Linked DNA regions of Homo sapiens: region 2 is linked to region 1. Evidence: promoter capture Hi-C in 16 types of primary human blood cells and fetal thymus (Javierre and others, 2016). All regions are on one chromosome and are shown on one strand. Each heading gives the region's core, a stretch centred on a gene start or on the middle of the fragment in contact. The rest is flanking DNA. Distances are from core to core; before and after follow the strand shown.

What was found. Contacts are between HindIII fragments. The CHiCAGO score rates a contact against its expected background, and 5 or more counts as called.
Region 2: a fragment that was not itself captured here is called in contact with the fragment with the promoter of LGR6 in region 1 in 4 of 17 cell types (megakaryocytes, total CD8 T cells, endothelial precursors and 1 more); the score reaches 8.0 in megakaryocytes.

What each region holds. Positions count from the first base shown.
Region 1 is chr1:202,191,394-202,196,053 of GRCh38, reverse strand. It overlaps LGR6 (leucine rich repeat containing G protein-coupled receptor 6), which reads right to left and starts at 2,255. Exons shown (of 18, transcript NM_001017403.2): 1 at 1,853-2,255. The coding sequence starts at 2,064. RefSeq lists enhancers at 3,122-3,171, 2,866-3,669. The HindIII fragment of the contact is 23,199 bases long and covers 1-4,660 here.
Region 2 is chr1:202,335,872-202,340,531 of GRCh38, reverse strand. All of the region lies in intron 1 of UBE2T (ubiquitin conjugating enzyme E2 T), which reads left to right. Among named protein-coding and RNA genes, the nearest start is that of UBE2T, 3.7 kb to the left of the region's middle. RefSeq lists enhancers at 2,943-3,466, 3,467-3,991. The HindIII fragment of the contact is 850 bases long and covers 1,573-2,422 here.

The DNA.
Region 1 (4,660 bases), core at 1,006-3,505:
GGCTTTCTCAATCCCCAGGAAGACACAGACCAGCTCAGAAAACCCCACCTCCACTGAACCCAAATGCAGACTTCACAGCTCCGAGGGAATTGTGGCAAGCTAGTGGGAAAAACTTCTGCCAGCATGGATGGTAGGATGCTTGAATTCCAAAGGTGACAGTGTACCTCCTTCCCCAAGTCCTTCTAGAAAAAGGGTCATTAACCAGTCTAGGAAGACTTAATGCTGGGAAAGGAAGCTCTGGAAGGCCTTATCTCCCCTGCCCCTTCAACCCAGGCAAGGGACCTTCCTTCAGCTCACCCAGAGAAAGGCTCCACAGAAGTCACATCTAAACTCTTTAGCCACAGGACCCTGTCTTCAAATGAACCAATGTCACATACTCCCAGGATAGAAAACTGCTGAAAGAGGGGCTGGCCTGTGTGTAGGGTGGGGCCGGAGCCTGCCCTGCTTTGCCAGATGCTGAGCGCCCAGGCTCTGTGCAGTTGGTACCTTTATTCCCATGATTGCCTCTGCCGTCACCTACTGCACTGTGAAGGATTCCATTTGTCCTTCTAGATGGACATTATTTTTCTCTTCCCACTCCCTTACCTGGCCCACAGCCTGTGCCTTTTGGAGTGGAGGGGGACATCCCAACCTGGGGACAGGGACATTTGGAGAGGAGCCCCATGAAGAGTTGCCCTCTGGGACCCTCTACCTCCCACCAGGACACTCCCAACACTGAGCATCTTTAGTTCCACAAATTCTTGCTAGGCCCCTATAAAGATTCACCCAGCCTCCTCTTCCTCTAAGCTCCCATGTGCTGGAACCCCAAAGCCATAAGGAGCCTCTCTCAGGCCAGAAGGAACTCTGGGATCCTAGCCCTCAGCAGAAGGCCCCACCAGGCTTTCCCACCTGCTCCCAGCTCCTCTGAGGAAGTTGATAGAGCCTGCAGAGCTGGGCTGGAGGAGGTTTCCTTGCCCCAGAGCGGGGCTGGGGGTGCAGGTGGGTGGCCTGGAATGTGCTCTCTCACCCTCCTCCTGCCCAGGTGGTGAGCAGCCAGAGCCCCCAGCCCTCCAGCTCTGAGGGGAAGCTCCCATGAGCCAGACAGACAGGACAGCTGCCCCCAGTAGGGTCCCCTTCACGCGCCATCTCACCCCAACTCAGACGCTAAAAATGGTTCTCTGGTTTTCAGCCTCGGCGCCTGCCCACAAATTAGTGTCTCCAACACAGCCTCTTGGGACATGACTTTAGGGAGGCCCCTGGGGGAGCCAGGAGGCCCCAGTGAAGGGAGATGGTGCTGGCAGAGTCCCTTTCTGAGGAGACAAGAGTGGATAAGGCCCCCCTCCCAGCTTCTAGGAAACCCGCCCCCCCCGCCCCCACGAAGGCCACCCAGCCTCAGTGTGACAGCCCTGTTGTCCTCACCATGGCAGAAGAACAGACATTATTTCCACCCTACTGGGGCACGCTCCCCTCACCTCCACCTCCAGTTCTGTCAGCTTTACCCTCAGCCACCATCCCGGGCACTGCTCTGCTAGAAGAGAATGCAGCAACAGGAGATGGAGCAGCCAGCCCCGCGCCCTCCCGCTCAGGGTCCAGAACCCACCTCGCCAAGCCTGGGCTCCCATAGTCAGCCCACAAGCACGGAGGCCAATGGGGAAGCCAAGTCAGGGAAGCCCGGTCTCCCTGCTCGCCTGGTATTTAGTCTCAGACTCTTCTCCCCTCCCCAGTCCCGCAACGGTCAACTTGGAAGGGGGCAAACCCTCTCCGGGATGCCCATGCCCCAGGGCACCAAGCAAGCAGGTGCCCTGCTGAGGCCGGGACTGGGCGCTAGCCAGCAGCCCGCAGGACCAGGCGGGGACAGGCGGGCAGTACTCACAGGTAAGCCGTCAGGGGGTCCAGGTCCCCCGGAACGGCGGACAGCCCGAGCTCAGAGCAGTCGGCAGACAGCATGATGCCGTCCTCCTGGCAGTGGCAGGGGGCCGGGCAGGCGGTGGGCCCCGGGCCGGGCTGGGGGGCGCCGCCGGCCCTCCGGGAAGCGCACAGCGCGGCGCAAAGCCATAGCGCCCGGAGCCCCGGCGGGCTGGGCATCTCGGCGGTCGGGCTACTGGGGCACCTGGCGGCCGGGCGCGGACGCACGGCGCGATGGCCGCAGCTGCTTCCTCCCGGTCCCGGCGGGCTGCACCGTCGGTGGGGACCGCCCCAGGGGCTCTATTGGGCGGCGGCGGCGGCGGTGGGAGCGCCGGGACGGTGCAGTCAGAGAGGGGCAGGCATTGTTGAGTGATCTTCGTTATTCAGTTTCACAGGCTGGGCTTGGCAAGGGAGGGAGACCCAGCCGGAGGAGGAGTCAAGGAAACTTTCTACACTGCGGCTCGCTCCTCTTCCCTCCTTCCTTCGGAGCTGGCAGGAATTTCATCCAGGAAAGAAAAAAAAAAAAGGAAGAAAGCAAAGAAACCCAAGCGAGCAAAGCTCAGCCCGTCAGAGACCTGCATTTGTTTGGATAGGGTGTCCCAGGGCCTTGGCCGCAGGGCTGGGGACCCTCTTGCCTTTGGGGACAGCCACGAGGTCACATGGGACCCAGAGGAGGTCTCTGAAAGAGGCCTTGGGGCTCCCATTGCCCCTCATGCCTCCACCACGTTTCACACTGCAGGAAACTGAGACCCAAGAGGCAAAATGATTTGTTCAAGGTGACACAGCTGATGGGACATCCCCAGAGCTGGAACTCGTCCACCCTCCCTGGCCTGTCTGCTAGGACAGGAGAGAGGGGAGTGAGGGGCTACCCTGGAAGAGGCCAGGCTGCGGAGGGTTCCACTGCAGGCTGGGATGACCCGACGGTGGGCAACCAGGAGCAGTCTCCTCACTGAGAGGCCGGGCCTTGACTCCAAAGAAACGGGTGTGGAGTTACACCCGCTGAGTGCACCCTGGGTGGAAATGCACTCCTGCAGCCTCTGTCAGGTTTACGGCCTGGGGACCACCTTGATCCCTGCTCCCAGGACCTCGGGAGTCTGAGGGACTGTGGGCAGCTCAGCTGGTTGTCAGAGCCCACCTCAAAGTAAGCGGATTGGTGCCACCTGGAGGCCGGGTGCTGCACCTGCAGCTCAGCCACCCTGAGGCTGGAATCCCACCAAGTGGCTGACCTGGGCCGGCCCCAGAGCCCTGGAGAGCAAAGGGCATGGTGGTTAAAACTGAGGTCAATCCCTGTTCTCTCCTTAGACCATAGTGAGCTGGCTGTGCTTCCTTCATGCAGCCTCTTGCTCTCTCTGGTCTCTCCCATGCTGAGCCAAGCCCCCGCGCAGAGCTAGAGCAGGCTGTGGGCCCCCCTCCTTCCTTTTTTTGCCCTATCTCCCCATGGTCCAGCCAGAGGGTATACTAGAAACCTGGGACCTCAGAGGCATCCAGGATTTCTTCCACCCTGTCTTTCCACATGCCAGGATCCTCTCATCAACACCTCTCCACTCTCCCAATAACCTCCCAGGGCTAGAGGGGCTGCATAGCTGGACCAAGAAATGAGCAGACCTTGACCCTAGGCCTCCAGTTGGTGCCATGGCGCTGAAAGTAGAAGACGAGCCTCCGCTCTCGCTCTCCCTCTCCCTCTCCCCTCTTTCCACGGTCTCCCTCTGATGCCGAGCCGAAGCTGGACTGTACTGCTGCCATCTCGGCTCACTGCAACCTCCCTGCCTGATTCTCCTGCCTCAGCCTGCCGAGTGCCTGCAATTGCAGGCGCATGCCGCCACGCCTGACTGGTTTTCGTATTTTTTGGGTGGAGACGGGGTTTCGCTGTGTTGGCCAGGCTGGTCTCCAGCTCCTAACTGCGAGTGATCCGCCAGCCTCGGCCTCCCGAGGTGCCGGGATTGCAGACGGAGTCTCCTTCACTCAGTGCTCAATGGTGCCCAGGCTGGAGTGCAGTGGCGTGATCTCGGCTCGCTACAACATCCACCTCCCAGCAGCCTGCCTTGGCCTCCCAAAGTGCCGAGATTGCAGCCTCTGCCCGGCCGCCACCCCGTCTGGGAAGTGAGGAGCGTCTCTGCCTGGCCGCCCATCGTCTGGGATGTGAGGAGCCCCTCTGCCTGGCTGCCCAGTCTGGAAAGTGAGGAGCGTCTCTGCCCAGCCGCCATCCCATCTAGGAAGTGAGGAGCACCTCTTCCCGGCCGCCATCCCATCTAGGAAGTGAGGAGCGTCTCTGCCCGGCTGCCCATCGTCTGAGATGTGGGGAGCGCCTCTGCCCTGTCGCCCCGTCCGGGATGTGAAGAGCGTCTCTCCCCGGCCGCCCCGTCTGAGAAGTGAGGAGACCCTCTGCCTGGCAACCGCCCTGTCTGAGAAGTGAGGAGCCCCTCCGCCCAGCAGCCGCCCCGTCTGAGAAGTGAGGAGCCCCTCCGCCCGGCAGCCACCCCGTCTGGGAAGTGAGGAGCGTCTCCGCCCGGCAGCCACCCCGTCCGGGAGGGAGATGGGGGGGTCAGCTCCCCGCCTGGCCAGCCGCCCCGTCCGGAAGGGAGGTGGGGGAATCAGCCCCCCGCCCGGCCAGCCGCTCGGGAGGTGAGGGGCGCCTCTGCCCGGCCGCCCCTACTGGGAAGTGAGGAGCCCCTCTGCCCGGCCAGCCGCCCCATCCGGGAGGGAGGTGGGGGGGTCAGCCCCCCGCCTGGCCAGCCGCCCCGTCCGGGAGGTGAGGGGCGCCTCTGCCCGGCCGCCC
Region 2 (4,660 bases), core at 748-3,247, 140 kb before region 1:
TTTCTTTTTTTTTTTTTTAAGAAAGGGTCTCGCTCTGCCACCCAGGCTGGAGTGCAGTGGCGCGATCTTGGCTCACTGCAACCTCCGCCTTCCTGGTTGAAGCCATTCTCCTGCCTCAGCCTTCCAAGTAGCTGGGATTACAGGCGTGCACCACCACACTTTGCTAATTTTTGTATTTTTAATAGAGATGGGGTTTCCTCATGTTGGCCAGGCTGGTCTCAAACTCCTGACCTCAAATGACCCACCCACCTTGGCCTACCAAAGTGCTGGGATTACAGGTGTGAGCCACCATGCCTGGCCAGTTTTGTTTTGTTTTGTTTTTGAGACAGAGTCTTGCTCTGTCGCCCAGGCTGGAGTACAGTGGCGCGATCTCAGCCCACTGTAACCTCCACCTTCTGAGTTCAAGCCTTTCTCCTGCCTCAGCCTCCTGAGTAGCTGGGATTACAGGCCTCCACCCCCGCAGCTGGCTAATTTTTATATTTTTAGTAGAGAGGGGATTTCCCCATGTTGGCCAGGCTGGTCTGGAACTCCCGATCTCAAGTGATCCACCTGCCTCAGCCTCCCAAAGTGCTGGGATTACAGGCGTGAGCCACTGTGCCAGGCCTCACAAGCTGGTCTTGAACCTCTGCATGTCCTCCCATATACTTTATTTATTTTAGAGATGGGGTTCTCCTTTGTTGCACAGGCTGGTCTTGAACCCCTGGCCTCAAGTGATCCTTCTGCCTTGATCTCCCAAAGTGCTGCAATTACAGGTGTGAGCCACCGTGCCCAGCCCCACCCCCATATACTTTGAATTATTTCTTGATTACTTATAATACCTAATAAAATGCTAAGTAAATTGTTGTTACACTGTATTGTTTAGGGAATAATGACAAGAAAAAATGTATAGTACGTGTTTGGACGAAGATGTTTTTTTTTTTTTTTTTTTTTTTGAGACAGAGTCCTAATCTATCGCCCAGGCTGGGGTGCAGTGGCGTGATCTTGAAGTACAAAACACTTCCAGCAAAAAATCTTTATTTTTAAGAAAAAAGTATTTTTTCTCATTTTCTATTTTTGTCATAAATTTTTATTCTTTCCAGTGGAACCAAAACTTGAACTTCCTTTTGGTTGATACATGCCCAGCAAGACTGATCAAAGAAAAGATGGCACAGATAAACAGTGTTAGAAATGAAAATGGAAACATAACCATAGATAACTACAGATTAAAAAGATAAAACATTATACAAATAAATTGAAAATTGCATGTAATAGATAAATTTGTGGAAAAATTTAACTTGCCAAAATTGATGCAAGAATAAATAACTTGAATAAGATTCAAGTAAATTGGATTTGTAGGTTAAAATTTTCTCAAAATGAAAACACCAGGATCAGATGGAGTTATTCCAGACAACCTAGTAACAAATTATCTCTTGGACTAATCCACAATATGTTAAAAAAAAAAAAAAAAAAAAAAAGGAGGCAATACTCCCTAACTCATTTTAGGAGGCTAGCATAACCTTGATAGCTAATAAAGACAAAATTAGAAAGGACAGTTATAGGCCAGTCTTACTGATTAGCATAGTGTTAAAAGCTTTCCCTTTAAGGTTAGAAATCTGACAAGAATGCCAACTATCAGCTTTTCTTTCTTTCTTTTTTCTTTTTTTTTTTTGGCTGTTGTTTAGACAGGGTCTCACTCTGCCTCCCAGGCTGGAGTGCAGTGGCACAATCATGGCTCACTACAGCCTCAGTCTCCCCGGGCTCAGGTCATCCTCCCACCTTAGCCTCCTGAGTAGCTGGGATTACAGGCTCATGCCAGCATGCTTGGCCCAGCTATCAGCTTTTTCATTTAACATTGTACTAGAAGTTACTGTCAGAATAGAAGGCAGGAAAAGAATTAGAAGGGAAGAAATAAACTTGATTATATGTGGATGACATGATTGGCAGTGTGGAATTACCATTCCCAGACTGCTCCCCACCCCAAATAGATTCATCATTAGCATTACTAAGGCTTTGGTTAAAAATCAGTTAGATTGGCTGGGCGAGGTGGCTCATGCCTGTAATCCCAGCACTTTGAGAGGCTGAGATGGGTGGATTACCTGAGGTCCGTGGTTCGAGACCAGCCTCACTAACATGGAGAAACCCTGTCTTTACTAAAAAAATACAATATTACCTGGGCCTAATGGTGCATGCCTGTAACGCCAGCTACTCAGGAGGCTGAGACAGGAGAATCGCTTGAACCCAGGAGGTGGAGATTGCGGTGAGCCAAGAGCACACCATTGCACTCCAGCCTGGGCAACAAGAGCAAAACTCCATCTCAAAAAAATAAAAAAAAATCAATTAGATTTACATGTATCAGTAAGAAATGGGTAGAAAATAGTGTTTTTGAAAAGATAGCAAAAATATAAATACTTAGAAATCAGTCTAACAAAAATTAGATAAAGCTTTATAGAGAAAATTATAAAACCTTTGGAAAGCATCAAAAAAAAGACTGAAACAGCGTGTTCATGGATCTTAGGATTCAATATCATAAAGATATCAGTTATCTCCAAATTGATCTATAGCATCAATAAAATTACAATCCAAACCACAGAACCCTGTTATGATTTGGATTATAATTTCAGATATACATATTTATGTATATATTTATGGACTTATGAACTGATTCTCAAATTTATATGGAAGAGCAAAGAGTCAAGAATAATCAAGTCATTCCTGAAGAAAAAGACCAGGTGGATAAGCTATAGTAAAACATCACATTGTACACCTTAAATATATACAATTTGTATTTGCCAGTTATACCTCAGTAAAGCTGGGAAAAAATTTAAATAATAAAAAATGAATAAGCTATAGTAATTCAAACAGTGGAGTATTGTCTCAGAAATAATCCACTTGACCAGTGGAACAAATTCAAGAGTCCCAAAACAAATCCACACATATAGAAATTTAATTTATAGTAATATCAGCAGGGAAAGGATGGACTGATTCAGTAAATGATGTTAGAACAATTGACTATTCATATGGGGAAAAACTTTAAATTGGACCCCCACCTCACTCACTATACATAAAATTCAATTCCTAGTGGATTCAATATTTAAATTTGAATAGCAAAATTATAAAATATTTGAAGGCTATGTAGGAATATCTCTACATTTGGGGGTAAGGAAAAATTTAATACACAAAGTATAAATGTAAAGAAAGAGATTTTAAGATTGATTATGTTAAGAGTATGTGTTTATTGAAAGACACCATGTACAACATGGAAAGATAAGCACAAACTGGGGGATATTTGTAACACATTAAAGGATTGGTGTTGGCTGGGCGCGGTGGCTCACGCCTGTAATCCTAGCACTTTGGGAGGCTGAGGTGGGTGGATCACGAGGTCAGGAGTTCAAGACCAGCCTGGCCAAGATGGTGAAACCCCATCTCTACTAAAAATACAAAAAGTAGCCGGGCGTGGTGGCGGGCGTCTGTAATGCCAGCTGCTCGGGAGGCTGAGGCAGAGAATTGCTTGAACCCGGAAGGCTGAGGTTGCAGTGAGCCGAGATCGCACCACTGCACTCCAGCCTGGGCAACAGACCGAGACTCCGTCTAAAAAACAAAAGGGATTAGTGTCCTTTGCTTGGTTAGTAAAGAGAGAACTAGAGTTGAGAAGAGTGTTGGGTGAATATGTGTGTAGGTGTTGGTTTTAGGTGAGAGAGACTTTGAGCATATTTGAACATTGAGGGTAAGAAAGATGGAATAATTGATGGAATGGTATCCCTGAAGATTGGGAGAAGGTGGAATCCATAGCACATGGAGAGAAACTCGGACATTTAACATTTGTTTGTACCTGAGAATGTTGACTATCTCTACCATTCTTGCTCTCACAAAGCATATGTAGACTTCCTCACAACAGCAAATATTTGTCAAATCCCTTACTATGACAGGCATGCTAAGGCTACAATAGTAAGCAAAATCAGACCCAGGCCTGGCCTCATGAGTTTATAATTTATCAGTGGAAACACCCATTATTTAAAACCTTTAGTGTTTTTATTTTTTGTAGAACTTTTTGCATTTTTAGTTCTTTATTTTAAAAATATATTTGCTTGTATAGATAAACGTTCACAAGAAGGGAGTGGAAAAACTCAGATTCCCTTGTCAGAATAGAGATTAATAAGAGGAATCTTGGACTGGCGTGGTGGCACACACCTGTACTTCCAGCTACATAGGCGGCTGAGATGGGAGGATCACTTAAGCCCAGCAGGTGGAGATTGCAGTGAGCTGAGATTGTGCCACTGCACTCCAGCCTGGGTGACAGAGCAAGACCCTGCCTCTAAAAAAAAAAAAAAAAAAAAAAAAAAAAGCTGGGTGCATTGGCTCACGCCTGTAATCCCAGCACTTTGGGAGGCCAAGGCAGGCGGATCACCTGAGGTCAGGCATTTGAGACCAGCCTGGCCAACATGGCGAAACCCTGTCTCTACTAAAAATACTAAAATGAGCTGGGCATGGTGGTGCACGCCTGTAATCCCAGCTACTCTGGAGGCTGAGGCATGAGAATTGCTCAAACCCAGAAGGTGGAAATTGCAGTGAGCTGAGATGGTGTCACTGCCCTCCAGTCTGGGTGACAGAGTGAAACTGTGTCTCAAAACAAAAAAGAGGACTCTGTCCCCCACCCTCACTACATTGAAGCTGTTTGCTGAAA